Regions from separate parts of the Homo sapiens genome. Here region 2 is linked to region 1. Evidence: promoter capture Hi-C in human tissues and cell types (Jung and others, 2019). All regions are on one chromosome and are shown on one strand. Each heading gives the region's core, a stretch centred on a gene start or on the middle of the fragment in contact. The rest is flanking DNA. Distances are from core to core; before and after follow the strand shown.

Region 1 (7,500 bases), core at 3,533-6,032:
TCCACAATTAGCACCTTATCATGTGCTCCCTAATTCTCAAATAGTCTGAGTCACTATAGCAAATGCTGTGCTGGTCACCATTCATTGATCTAACTTGTCCCCTGGGCCGGCTTCTTGAGTGTAAGGACATCTTTCATTCTCACATCACCTAGCCCAGCGAGGCTGGATACTCTGGTAGTCAAACCTATACTTGCAAAGGCAATCATTGGCCATTTGCATTGAAACTGTATTCACCCAACTCTTCCTTTAAACCTAGCTCTTGCTGATTACTAAAGTGTAACTTGCCCTCAATAGTTCAAAAGTCCATCCATATTTTGATGCAAAGTTGTGAAGAAATGTGTGTGTCCCTCTATTTTTAAAATCCATTGTGTTCTGACTTAAAAGTGTTTTAAAATGTGAAGAGTTTGCCCTCATTGAGTAAGAAGCAGCTTTTCCAGTGGGACCCTGCTAACGTGGTTACTAAGGAGACCAATTGGAGGTAGGCGCCGTAATTAATCAGTAAATTCCAAGCAGCCAAATACCTGGCCAGGAGAGGCTCTTTACTCTGAGAGGGGAAAATTGGCAGGTGGGTGGAGGTGCGTTGAGCTGCACATGGGGCCCAGCTGCAGCTGCCTCCTTCCCTTGTACTTCCTCTACTGAGATATTCTGATGACAATTTTAAGAGCTTTCTCAATCTGCCTCAAAACTTACCTATCAGTACAGATTGGATTCTAATGTTTGCAGCCTCCCTGGTTGGGCCTCTATTGCAAAGAAGATGCCAAGCTGGTGTGGGCAGGAGTGAACTTCCGCCACCTCATAAGCAGAAGAAATCATTATTTTATTTTATTTTATTTTATTTTTATGAGACAAGGTCTTACTCTGTTACCCAGGCTGGAGTGCAGTGGCTCAATCATGCCTCACTGCAGCCTCAACTTCCCAGGCTCAAGTAATCCTCCCTCCTCAGCCTCCCAAGTAGCTGAGACTACAGGTGCTTACCACCACACCTGGCTAGTTTTTTATATTTTATAGAGACAGGGTCTTGCCGTGTTGCCCAGACTGGTCTTGAACTCCTGGGCTCAAGCAAACCTCCCACCTTGGCCTCCTAAAGTGCTGGGATTACAGGCATGAACCACCACGCCCAGCCAAGAATTTTATTAATTCCAAGTTCTTGTGCACACACACACACACGCATACACACACACGCGCGTGCACACACACACAAAGCAGTAGAAATAAGAACATGTGACCTTTCTTTTCCAACTATTTTAATAAATGTATCCTGCCAATCAGAAAAGCAGGGGGCAGCTTGCTGCTCTGTGACCAGTTACCATACCCAAGGGAAGCCCATGGCTCTCAAAGTGCCAAGTCTCAGTGGCTGTGTGGCAAGGGGGAAGCCCTGAAGCCATCACAAACGCCACACAGTCTGCACCATTTCTAGTCTACTTGTGCTTTTCTGAGGGGCAAGATTCTTCTACTCCCCCACCCAACAGTGGTTTTAAACTCCCTCCTGGGTTCATCCTGCCCTTCCCCATCCATCACTGGAGACAGCCTGCCACCACATGCAGCTTCATTCAACCCACCAAGAATATCCAGGTGTTGGGTTCAACTCTTCTGTCTGGTAAATGAGGAAAGAAAAGTCCAGAGAAGCTAAGTGACTTTTCACTCTTGCTCTTTCTCTTCCTCAACTGCAAGGGAAGAAAAGCATTTAGCTGCCTGAACATCCTGGGAATGACGAGGTGCTCAAAGGCAGGTGTGTTGGTTTAAGGTAATTTTCCACTGGATGTAATAGAAAATCCAACTAAATGGCTTAAATCATAGGAAGTAAAAGTTTCAAATGCCTCCAATGAATGGCTTCTGCATAGCCACCCTCTATTATCCTGGGACTTTGTAGTCTCCACCCAGCCTGGCTCTGGACAGTCTTGCAACTGGCCTTAGCCAACAAATGTAGCAAAAGCAATGGACTGCCAGCTCCATGCTTAGGTCTCAAGAGGTTCTGTGTGCTTGCGGTTGTTCCCTTGCTTGATTGTATTTGCTTGTGCTTTCACTTCAGGCTTGCCATGAGACTATGCCAGGTTAATATGCTGGAGGGATGTGAGAGACCCATGAAGGATAAGACATGTGCAAGAGAACCAAGGTCCCCAGCTGACACCCAGCCAACTTTCTGAGTCCAACTGCAGGTGCAGAAGAGAGTCAGGCTGAGACCAGAAGAACTGCCCTGCTGAGACTAGCCAAAATTCCCAATCTGTAGAATCATGAGTCAAATACGTGGTCTGTTGTTTCAAGCCTCTGGCCTTGGTGTGGCTTGTTATGCAGCAATGGGTAACTGAACCCTGACTGACATTTGAAATAAATGTTTGGGGTTTTTTTTGTTTTTTTTTTGTTTTTAAAAAAAGGTTGAAGTTTGGAGTCCAAGACTGATATGGCCATTCCATTAGTCATGGGGGACCCAAAATCCTTCCATCTTTATGTTCCATCATATTTACTCATGGCTTCCATCCTCAAAGTTGTCTTATCTCATAATCCAAGATAGCTGCTAGAGCTCCAGCCATCACATTTGTGTCCCAGGCAGGATGGAGGGAGGACAAAGAAGAGAGAGAGGCCTTCAGTGAGTTGACCCCCTTTAAAAGAGCTTTCCCAGCCAGGCTCAGTAGCTCACACCTGTAATCCCAGCACTTTGGGAGGCCGAAGTGGGCAGATCACAAGGTCAGGAGATCAAGACCATCCTGGCTAACATGGTGAAACCCCGTCTCTACTAAAAAAAAATACAAAAAAAAAATTAGCCAGGCATGGTGGCAGGTGCCTGTAGTCCCAGCTACTCAGGAGGCTGAGGCAGGAGAATGGCATGAACCTGGGAGGCAGAGCTTGCAGTGAGCTGAGTTGGCGCCACTGCACTCCAGCCTGGGCGACAGAGCAAGACTCCGTCTAAAAAAAAAAAAAAAAAAGCTTTCCTGGAAACCCCACCCAAGGACCTGCAGCTTAATGCTCATTGGCAACCCTTGGTCAATGGGAAATGTAGTCTTTTAGCTAAGTGCATTGATGCCTGGAATAAAATCAAGGGTACCGTTTAGTAAGGAAGAACAGGGAAATGGGGATTGGGTAGGCAGCCTGCAATATCTGCCACATCATGTATGAAATCAGGTTCCAGGCCTGAGACACTGAAGTACATCAGGATGCAAAAGTGACCCCGTGTCAGTCAGTGAACATGCTGGTTTCCCAAAGAGTCCAAAATGGTAGCTGCGACCTGCAGTGTAAGGTTTGGGCAACAGAGATCTAAGTGAAGAATCATGAGTATGCTGGTCTCCTGAGCCCTTTTGCTGTGAACACAGACGGAAGGGAAATTTTATTCTCAGAACCTGTTGCTCTTAACCTGAGCAGATGTTTGCTGTCTTTTTCCTATTTTCTTTTTATGGAGATGTAATTCCCATAACATAAAATGCACCATTTTAAAGCATACAATTTGGTGGGTTTTAGTATTCTTGCTATGTTGTGCAACCATCACCTCAGTCTAAATCCAGAACATTTCCATTACCCCAAAAAGAAACCCTATACCATTTGCAGTCAGGGCAGATGCTTCCCTCAATCCTTCTCCACCCAGTCCTGGGTAGACCAGAGAGCTGGACTTAACCACATGAATGAGTGCTTGAGCTCCTTGGATGACATAGGTTCAAACCCTGGGATTCTGGAATATTTTAGACCCTCTTAGGAAAACCAAGGACAGGGTCATGGTGAAATTCACCTAAGGTAAGGAAACGTGGGGTCCACAAGGATGCTAAACCCTCAAGCCTGTGCCTTCAGCCTGTGAGCTCCTTTCCTGCAGCCCACAACCCCCGGCGGCTGTAGAAGACAAAGAGGCTCTGCAGTAAGGGACAGGGAAGCTTCCAGAGCTTCTGAGCCTCCAGGGCCCTCGGTAGTGATGCCCTAAGTTGCAGAAGCTTTAAAAGCTCTCTGTTGTGACACCAGACACTGATATGGGATTTCTACATCCAGGTGGTACTAATCAGTGTGAAAAGCGGGCTGAGAGGAGAGGGAGGATGCAGCACATTCATTAAGGGCCTCGTGTGTTGTAGATTCAAACAGAATCTCCTTTTTCTACTCACAACCATCCTGGGCAGTATTAGACTCATTTTCCGGAAGGAGGACTTGAGGTTCACAAAGAGATGTGCCTTGCTCTGACTGTACAGCCGAATTTCAGACACTTCCATCTGAGCCTCGAGTCTCAGCATTCTCCATTGCACCATGCTGTGGGCACCTGTGGAAATGCCTCCTGACCTGGCCCAGGGCAGGTGCAGCCACCTCTTGAGTGGCCTAGTTAGGGGCAATGACATTAGGTCAGGGCTTGGCTTAGCTCAGCCCTGGGCTCCTCCGAGTCGGTAGGAGCTTGGCATGAGCTCCCCTCCCTTCTGCCTGCCTCCTATTCTTCACTCCTCAGGCAAAAAGGTTGCTCAAGGAGACTCCAGGATTTGGGGTCTGCCTCGTCACTGTCACCAGGAGGCTTTTTTTCTGACTTGCCAGAGCTCCCCATCAGTCCTCACAGAGCCTCTGGAAGCACAGGGAAGGCAGCTGTGGGATCCTGGCTGAACAGAGTCCAGGTGAAGCAGGCTTGAGAATGGATTGATGGGGAGGTGGGGATGTCACAGGTCTGATGGCAGAGCCGGGGGAAGGGAACAGCCAGGAAGGCTTGCAGGTTCTGCTGTTTGGTTGCTGAAGGGGGTCAGTGTGTGTATGTGTCATGGAGGTGGGCAGGGAAGGGGAGGGCTGTGCGTGGGGGAGAGGATATATATGCTGGTGTGGCTGAGAAAGCGGAACCGAGCCTCGCATCCATCGGAGGGAGCCGGGGACTGACAGCTCTCAGGTAGGCAACTGCACGGGGCCCCCAGCCCGACCGCGACTAACTGGACTAACTGCGTGGAGCTCCGGGAGGGCAGGGCCACCAGGGGCTGGCTCCTCGGCCTCTCTCCTTTGTCCAGTGTGGATGCTGCTGGCCTCTTGCGAGATGGTTTCTTCATTCATCTCCTTTGTAGCGCTTGGATGGTGGGGAACGGGGGAGGGCTGAGTCTCTTTTTTAACCTCAGACAGACGCAGAAGCAGAAAGAGGGGAACTTGGAAATGAGGAAAAGTTTTGCTTCCCCAGCTGTGGCCCCTACGTGGTTGTTGCTCTGTGTCGAGAGGAGGCTGCTGGAGGAGTGAGGCCAGAGGAGGGGCAGGCACTTGGGAGGGGGTTTGCCTTCCACGGGGCGGCCCCCAGGAAGACCCTGGCCCCCTCATGAGGGTTTCCTCTCAGTGGCTTCCTTTCCTCTCAGATGCGGTGCGCAGGCTGCTTCTCCGCCTATCACTGAACTTGATGCCATCCAGATGGGAGTTTTTAATCCGGAGGGAGCCCTTCTCCCTTCTGCCCCCAGCAGAAATTGCTACAAATAATGGGGAAGCGCCAGATCTGGGGAGTGTGCTTCACCTGTATACACACACTGCTGAGCGCCACGGCGTGTGAATTCCAGAGAGCATTTCTACGGGCGTGACCTTGGTCTCCCAGAACCCGATTCATTTAGAGGGCTCTTCTCTTGCTTGGCATCCCTCTCCCCCTGCCCATCTCCCCCACCTAAAGGTCTTTGCCCAGGTCATGCAGAATACTCCGTTCATAGTCACCGCATCCCAACTCTCGAGGCTCTCTCAGCCACCTTCTTTCTTCCTCCTCTCTTTGTGCATCTCTCTCCCTCGAGTCTTGCTTCCCCGGCTTCACTACCCAGCCCCTCCTCCCCGAATCTCGCTCTGAACATGGGCAAGTTCTGGGGGAATTTCAAGTAAGGCAGGATGATTCGGGAAATGGACTATTTAAAGCAAGCTGCTTTGGACTTGAATACCCCCATCCTGCGCTTAAACATCTGTGTTTAGCTTCCTCAAGCAGCCCATAATTGCCCCAATTATAACCAATAACATTGTTCGGCAGACTAACAAAAGATGAGCTTTGCACGGCATTCGCCAGCAAGCCCAAACCAGAGTTTTCAACATAGATGGGAAAAGTAACTGCCTGGCTTCTTATCAAAACCTCCCAAAGCAAATACTGCTCTTTTTCGCTGCTTGTGGGTGGCTACTGCATGCAGCCTCTTTTTTTCTCATTTGTAAAGTGTGGCAGGGAAATATTCTACAAGCTTACACTGAGGCTATGTTACCTTTAACAAAAAGGATTCGTGCTCCTTTGGGCTTGCTGAGTCTTCTGCAGAGGAGGGTCCCTGGAAAACCCATCCCCAACCATCACCACCTCTGTAAAAGCATGTGCCGCCTGGTGCTGCCTGGCGAGGGCGCTGTGGTACAGCCTCGGGTCATTTTGAGGGCGCAGTTTTGTTGCGCACAGGGCAGCAGCCCCTGCTTTATCAGCTGAAGGCTGAGAGTACTTACGGATTTGTAAAATGCAGGCGAGTTTGCATTGTCAGTGAAGGGAGTGATTGCAGGATTAGGCTCAAACCTGTGCTCCCTGGAGCCTATGACAAGAGCTGTCACTAAGCTATCCTGTATTCAATCAATCAGGTAGTTACCGTCTACACTCCACCAGGCAGGGAGGCTTGCAGGGGCTCTAGTAGATTCAGCAGAGGTGATAATAACAGCACTTTACATTTGTACAACGATTTAGGCGCTTTCACACCTATTATCCCAGCAACAGCCCTGTGAGGTGGTGCCATTATCTCGGTGTTGCAGTTGGAGAAACTGAAACTGAGAGATTAAATGATTTATTCAGTACATGGCAGGGTCAGGACTGAGCCAAGGCATTGTGGCTCCAGTTCATCTCCCCGTTACGGTCAGGGGTGCTTATGAACTCATAGTGGGGTCGGGGGTAGAGGAGAGACGTAACACAAACATGAGAAACAATTAGAGGACCATGCAAGGCAGGGTGTAATTCAGTCCTAAATCACATAATCCAGAGAGCAAGTGCTAGAAGAATTCGGGAGAAGGAGCATTTCCTCCAGGCATTCCTGGGATCCTACCAAGTGAGAAGGCAGGTGGAATTTGGATGGGTGAAGGGCTTTGAAGAGGGAGGCAGCAGCCAGGTCAAACACATAAAATGAGGGCAAAGGAATTAACATTTCTTGAAACCCACTCTGTGCCAGGCAGTGAGCTAAGCTTGTCTACGTGCTTATTTCATGCTAATACACACATGCACATATGCACACTGGTAGGAATGGGAAGTTTCAGGTGAGCGTTCTCTACTTGCACTGACACGGTTCAGTGATCCCTCATTTCTCCATCCAGCTCCACAGCTCCCAAAGCCCACGAAGGAAGCTTTGAAATATCTTGCATTCCGAGTCTGGGTGGAGCTACTCCTCAGATATCTTAGGAAAGGGACGGGCCCTTCTCAGAAAACGGGAGCCGTCCTGACAATGAGTGGCTGGCAGTGGCTTGAATTGCTGGGCAGTCATGAAGCAAACTGGATTTTCTAAACGCCTTTATTTAAATCCCACAGTCGAACATAAAGTTTTCCATCTAATCACAAACTAGTCATGAGATTTGGAGCACATCGATTTCAGGGGC
Region 2 (7,500 bases), core at 2,091-4,590, 490 kb before region 1:
CTAAATTATTCTTAATTAGCCTCTTATTAAAGAAAGCATTTCTATCTGGAAACAATGTAAACCTAGATGAAGCTAAGATACGGAGGGTTGGACTAGTTAGACTGATTCCAAGAATGCATTAAGGAATATATATTGATGTAGTTGTTTGCCACTTAATAAACATGAAACTAGGTACAGAGTAATGATTAAAAGAAGTAATTTTGGGCTGGGCATGGTGGCTTACACCTGTAATCCCAGCATTTTGGGAGGCGAAGGCGGGCAGATCGCTTGAGGCCAGAGTTCGAGACCAGCCTGGCCAACATGGCAAAACCCTGTCTCTACTAAAAATACAAAAATTAGCTGGGTGTGATGGTACACGCCTGTAATCCCAGCTATTCAGGAGGCTGAGGCAGGAGAAGCGCTTGAACCTGGGAGGTCGTGCCACTGCACTCCAGCCTGGTCAACAGAGTGAGACTCTGTTTCAAAAAAATATATGAATAATAAAAAAGTAATTTAAAAAAACACTTTGTTGACAGCTATATTGGCACCATACTTGTTCGATTATTTCATTTTTCTTAACACAATATTCCTACTTTAAAATCATGTATTTACCCTTCTTAATAACAATGCCATAAGAAATGAAAATCTTTTACTTCTTTTAGAAGAGCATATCTTAGGAGGGCAACGCTGCAGAAAAGACAGCAGTCACTGACATCACCCAATACTGGCTTCCTCTTTGAGGTTTTCTCATGAAGAATCTGGTTTAATTACCACAAAGGAACCCTTTCCCCTGCCACTTCCCCTTCTTATGGAAGCCAAGGAAAAATTAAAAAGTAAATGACTTCCCCTTTAATAACCCATCAGGAGGAAGCTAGGAGAAAAGCAGAGGCAGAGCTACAGGCAAAGTTACAAAAGGGTCTAGGGACCGGAATACAGCCATCAGCCAGGATCAGGAGCAGACAACCGAATCTAAATACTGGAATTTTCAGACTACTTCTTTGTCTCCAAGTACAGTAGAATTATAGTTGCATGAAAAAAGGTTAATCTGAAATCTTATACTTACCTTTTCATTAGGTACACATTTACCCCAGTACCAAAGCCAAGCTTCTGCATAAACGGAGAGGCCGGGATATTTATAGTTGGAGTTGAACATAATACTAAATGTCAGAGAAATAAAAAATAAAATTAATAAAAAATAAAAATAAAGCATCTTAACATTCTCAATATACTACTGCCAAGAGTATTAATTGGCACAGTCTTTTTGGAGAGCAATTTGACAACATATATCCTAATTTTAAATGGGTATCTTTTGACCAAGCCTACTTTTGGAGTTTTATCCTACAGTAACTCTGAAGCAGAGATTGGGAAATGGCCTGTTTTTGTATGGCCTACAAGCTAAGAACTGTTTTCACATTTTTAAAACATTGTTAAAAGATAAAGGGGTTGGATGTGGTGGCTCATGCCTATAATCTCAACGCTTTTGGAGTCCGGGGCAGGAGGGTCACTTGAGCCCAGTAGAGACCAGCTTGGGCAACATAAAGAGACTCCATCTCTACACACGAAAAAATTTTTTTAATTAGCCAGGAATGATGGCACACACCTGTGGTCTCAGCTACTTGGGAGAAACACTTGAGCCCAGGAGGTTAAGGGTGCAGGTGCAGTGAGCTGTGTTCAGCCTGGGTGACAGAGCAAGACACAGTCTCAAAAAAAAAAAAAAAAAAAAAAAAAGATGAAAAGATGGAGTTCTGCTTCTGCTCATGAAAAATAATTAACTACTCCTGGACAATTAACTGCTCCTAGAGTTACCATCTCGCCATTAACTAGAAAACTAGACAAAATATAATTGTTTTCAGACACTTGACAACAGGCAGAGCAGTGTTGTGATGCCTGAGAGAAGAGAAACAAATGAGGTGGGCCCTATCACTGCCCTAACTTACTGCTTGAAGGCAGTTTCCAGACTGCAGGACAGAGGTCACATAATCCAGAAGTCCTGTCACATTGAAGAGACAGAGATCAGAGGTCAAGAAGGACTAGGCGGCTAGAATTTGTGGAGCAGAGAACTAGAGAGCTCCAAAGAGAGCACTCCAAAGATCTGAACAGTTTCTCTTTGAGTGTTTGGCCAAGTACTTATCCGCACATAACAATGTGTAGATGCCCCAAAGCTGGGAAAGCACCAGAGGAAAGCAATTGGCTCAACAATTACCAGAGATCATACAAGTCTAGGAACACTTCATATCACCATGAGCTAGAGGATGGTAACCCTGTAACACATAGTAAAGTCCTCTAAAGGGTCACAACTAGATAGTACAGCTAAAGTTTAGCCCCAGATAAACATTCAAAACAAAGCTTAAAAGCCAGTCTCAAAAGGAACAGGCTAATGTGCAGGTAACTTAACCTCAGACCATAACTAAATCAAACACTCTTTAAAGGAATAACAAAATCCAGTACTAGACAATGCAAAATATCTACTGCCCAATCAAAAAGTACCAGGCATGAAAGCAGCAAGAAAATATGACCAATATAGGAGAAAAATAAATCAATAGAGGCCTAGCGCGGTGGCTCACGCCTGTAATCCCAGCACTTTGGGAGGCCGAGGCAGGCAGATCACTAGGTCAGGAGTTCGAGACCAGCCTGGCCAACATGGTGAAACCCCGTCTCTACTAAAGAGGCAAAAAATTAGCCAGGTGTGGTGGCACGTGCCTGTAATCCCAGCTACTCGGGAGGCTGAGGCAGGAGAATGGCGTGAACCCAGGAGGCGGAGGTTACAGTGAGCTGAGATAGCGCCATTGCACTCCAGCCTGGGCGACAGGGCACAAGACTCCATCTCAAAAAATTAAAAAATCAATCAATCAATAGAAACATACCATAAGATGACAGGAGGCCAAGAGTGGTGGCTCACGCCTGTAATCCCAGCACTTTGGGAGGCTGAGGCAGGTGGATCACTTGAGGCCAGGAGTTCAAGACCAGCCTGGCCAACATGGCGAAACCCTGTCTCTACTAAAAATACAAAAATTAGCTGGGCGTGGTAGCACGTGCCTGTAATCCCGACTACTCGGGAGGCTGAGGCAGGATAATTGCTTGAACCCAGGAGGTGGAGGTTGCAGTGAGCTGAGATCGCACCATTGCACTCCGGCCTGGGTGACAGAGCAAGATTCTGTCTCAAGAAAAAAAAAAAAAAAAAAAATGACAGGAATGGCAAAATTAGCAGATAAGAACCTTAAGACAAATCTTAAAAATGTGCTCAATGATACAAAGGAAAATCTGAGCATAACGGAAAAAAAAAGACAAAATAGAAGCTTAGGAATGAAAAATACAATGGATAAGAATAACATCATCTTAGAGCAGAAGAATAACTAAATCTTAAGACAGAGCAACAAAAACTATCAAAAATGAAGCAAAGAGAGAAAAAGGTTAGAAAAAAATCATCAATGAGCTATGGGACAATAGCAAAACAGCCGATTTACATCCAACAATAGACAATTACATTGAGTATAAATGGTCTAAACAGAGCTGTCCAATACATCATGCTGCCATGTGGAAATGTCTATATCTGTGCTGTCTGAGCGCTGAGCACTTAAAATGTGACTAATACAACTGAGGAACTCAATTTGTAATTTTATTTAATTCTAATTAATTTGTATCCAAATTTAAATAACCACATTTAATAATCCAAATTTAAATAACCAAATTTAAATAGCCACATGTAGCTAATGGCAAAACAGTCCAGTTAAAGGAAATTAAAGTTGTCAGAACGGATAAAAACAAGACGAGACATGCCATTTATAATAAACTCAATTTAAATATAAAGACGCAAATAGGGCAAGAGTAAAGGGTTGAAAAACATCATTAAAACACAAATCAAAATAAATCTGGAGTGGCTCCATTACTATCACATAAAGTGGACTCCAGAACAAAGAGTACCACTGAGGATTAAGAAGGGTATTTCGTAACAGTTAAGGTATAAATTCATCAAAAGAAATAACCATCCTAGGCCAGGCATGGTAATCCCAACACTTTGGGATCTGACTTGTGGTTTATGTGTCTTGGTGAATGTTGCATGCACTTGAAAGGGAGGCCAAGGAGAGTGGATCACTTGAGGCCAGGAGTTTGAGACCAGCCTGCCCAACATGGCGAAAACCTGTCTCTACTGAAAATACAAAAATTAGCCGGCCATGGTGGTGCACGCCTGTAATCCCAGCTACTCCAGAGGCCAAGGCACCAGAATCACTTGAGCCCAGGAGGTAGAGGTTGCAGTGAGCCGAGATCACACTGTTGTACTCCATTACGGGTGACAAAAGGAAACTCAAAAAAACAAGAAAAAGAAAAGAAATAACCATCCTAAATGTGTATGTACCTAATAACAAAGCTTCAAAATACATGAAGCAACAACTGATAGAAATTGGGGGTGGGGGGAAGCAGACAAATCCACATTGTAGTTGGAAACTTCAACTCTCTTCTCTCATAATTAATATAAAAAGTATACAGAATATCATTGACATTTGTAGAACATTGACATTTGTAGAACACCGTACCCAGTAAGAGTAGAAAAAAATGCCCTTTTCAAGTGCATGCAACATTCACCAACATACATAAACCTCAAGTCAGACTGATTAAGGAAAAAAATTAAGAAAATATACAATACTAGTACCAGATATGAAAAAGGACACTAGAAGGTTAATAAGGGTGTATCAAGAATAACTTCACACCAGTACATTTGAAAATTTAGAAGTGATGGACAAATTCCTTAAAAAACACTAACAAAATTCACAAAGAAAATAAGAGATCACTTGAATAGCCCTATATCTATTAACTGTGAAATCACAGTTAAACTCTTCCTACTAAGAAAACTCCAGGCCCAGATAGCTTTACTAGTGAATTCCACCAATTTAAGGAGGAATAATACCAATTCTACACAAAGTTAAAGAAAAAGATATTTCTATTAAAAAAAGAGAAACATTTCTCATCTTTATGAATACAGAATAACCTAATATTAAAACTAGACAGATATCCCAAAAAGACAACTGCAGTCCAATATCCCTCATGAATATAGACAATATCAGCAAATCAAGCAATATATAAAATATATCATGACCAAACTGGCTTTACACAAGGAAGTTCAGTTTAACACTTGAAAATTAACATAATTTACCACATTGAGAGATTTTAAAAGAAAATTTAATAGATTCAGAAAAAGCTCTCTACAAAGTTCAATACCCACTCACGATAATAACTAGAAATAGAAGAAAAATTCCTCAAACTAATAAAGGGTATTTGTGAAAAACCTACATCTAACATAATACATTGGGAACAAGGCAAGTATATCCACTAACATTTCTATTCAAAAACATACTGGAGCCAGTGCAATTAAAAAAAGTAAAAGAAACAAAGCCATACAGACTGGGGAACAAAGTAAAACTGTCTTTCTTCATCCACAAATGACCAACCATATACAACATCCCAAGCAATCTATTAAAAAGCTAATAGAATAAGTGAGTTTAGGACGGTTGCAGGATACAAGGTCAATATGAAAAATCTGTCACTAGAAATGGACAACAGAATATTTTCTCATGTTATTTTCTAGAAATTTAATTGTAGCTATTTTTTATATAATAGGAGTTAAGGGTCAAGGCTTATTTTTTGCACGTGGATATCTAGGTGTTTGTTGAAAAGATTTTCCTTTGTCCATTGAGTTGCCTTGGAAAATATCTTTCCCTCACAAGAGCAATGTATGGATGAGAGGGAGAAAGGTAAAGCAGTTCCTTAATGGGTCAAGCTAAGTTGATTCTTGGGCAGGGAGAGCCTCCAAACCTGTTAGATTGTCAATAAAATTAGTCCAGAGATGATCAAACCGTGGCCTATAAAATAAGTCTTATTTGTTAAGATTAACATCATAAAGGGGAGTTACATTAAAGTTTCTAAGTGACCGATAATAAAGGATCAAACTAAATAATACTAGGACATTTCTAAGAGAAACAACAATAGTAAAAAAAAAAATCTTACATCTGCTATCTTACCAGATTTCTTTTTTTCTGATAATTTGCTTGGTGTCTTGAAATTACTGATCCCTTCCATTGTGAAAGCCACTCTCAGTCCTACGATGAAAACAAATTGCAAGTTACACAGCAGATATAAAGAATACAACTCTCATTCATGAAGAAAAATGCCAATAGCCAGGCGCAGTGGATCATGCCTGTAATCCCAGCACTTTGGGAGGCTGAGGTGGGTGGATCACCTGAGGTCGGTGGATCACCTGAGGTCGGGAGTTCGAGACCAGCCCGACCAATATGGAGAAACCCCGTCTCTACTAAAAATACAAAATCAGCCAGGCGTGGTGGCGCATGCGTGTAATCCCAGCTGCTTGGGAGGCTGAGGCAGGAGAATCGCTTGAACCTGGGAGGCAGAGGTTGCGGTGAGCCGAGATCGTGCCATTGCACTCCAGCCTGGGCAACAAGAGCAAAACTCCGTCTCAAAAAAAAAAAAAAGCCTATAACATTATCGTTCACGTTATCACAAACAAAATTTGAGAGCTAAAAAGGACCTCAACAAACATTTAGCCCAATTTTACTTAAAATGAGGAAACTAAAACCAAAAAGTACAATTACTTACCCCCATCATAATATTAGTGATTGGGTATTTTTGTTTTCATTATAAAGTAATATATGCACTTAGCTAAAAAAAAAATCACCTAGTACAAAAAAGTAAACAGTATGTCTCCCTGTTATACTTCCCAGGAGCAGTTGTTAACAGCTCTCTTATATCCTTTAAGGAAACTGTTCAAGCAGCATTATTCATAACAGCCAAAAGGCAGAAACAACAGAACTCTGCATCAGATGATGAATGGATAAACAAAATGTGGCATATCTATACAATGGAATATTATTCAGTCATAAAAAGGAATAAAGTGCTGATATATACAAGAATGAACCTTGAAAACATTATACTAAATGAAAGAAGCCAGACACATAAAGGCTACATATATGATGATCCTTTTTTTTTTTTTTTTTTAGATGGAGTCTCACTCTGTCGCCCAGGCTGGAGTGCAGTGGCATGATCTCGACTCACTGCAACCTCTGCCTCCCAGGTTCAAGCAATTCTCCTGCCTTAGCCTCCTGAGTAGCTGGGACTACCAGCGCCCACCACCACACCTGGCTAATTTTTATATTTTTGGTAGAGACGGTGTTTCACCATATTGGCCAGGCTGGTCACGAACTCCCGACCTTGTGATAATGCCCGCCTGGGCCTCCCAAAGTGCTGGGATTACAGGCATAAGCCACCGTGCCCGTCCAATGATCCCATTTTTAGGAAATGTCCAGAATAGGCAAATCATGGAGACAAAAATAGCTGAATAGTTACTAAGGACTGGGAGACAAAGAATGCAGAATGACTGCCAGTGGGTATGGGATTTCTTTCTGGGGTGAAGAAAAGGTTCTAAAACCAGATAATGGTTTAATATATTCATCTCTGAGTATACTAGAAACTATTGAATTTTACACTTTCAAAAGGTGGATTTTTATGATACAT

Evidence for each region. The method cuts DNA at HindIII sites, captures the fragments that hold promoters and counts their contacts. A contact is called where the count stands out against the background at its distance.
Region 2: a fragment that was not itself captured here is called in contact with the fragment with the promoter of PNOC in region 1 in 1 of the 25 tissues and cell types used here (dorsolateral prefrontal cortex).

The regions. Positions count from the first base shown.
Region 1 is chr8:28,312,486-28,319,985 of GRCh38, forward strand. It overlaps PNOC (prepronociceptin), which reads left to right and starts at 4,783. Exons shown (of 4, transcript NM_006228.5): 1 at 4,783-4,831. RefSeq lists enhancers at 5,776-6,288, 6,289-6,800. The HindIII fragment of the contact is 3,220 bases long and covers 3,389-6,608 here.
Region 2 is chr8:27,827,063-27,834,562 of GRCh38, forward strand. It overlaps PBK (PDZ binding kinase), which reads right to left. Exons shown (of 8, transcript NM_018492.4): 2 at 5,994-6,071; 3 at 1,043-1,136. The coding sequence starts at 6,051. Among named protein-coding and RNA genes, the nearest start is that of PBK, 7.0 kb to the right of the region's middle. RefSeq lists a silencer at 876-1,076. The HindIII fragment of the contact is 5,828 bases long and covers 427-6,254 here.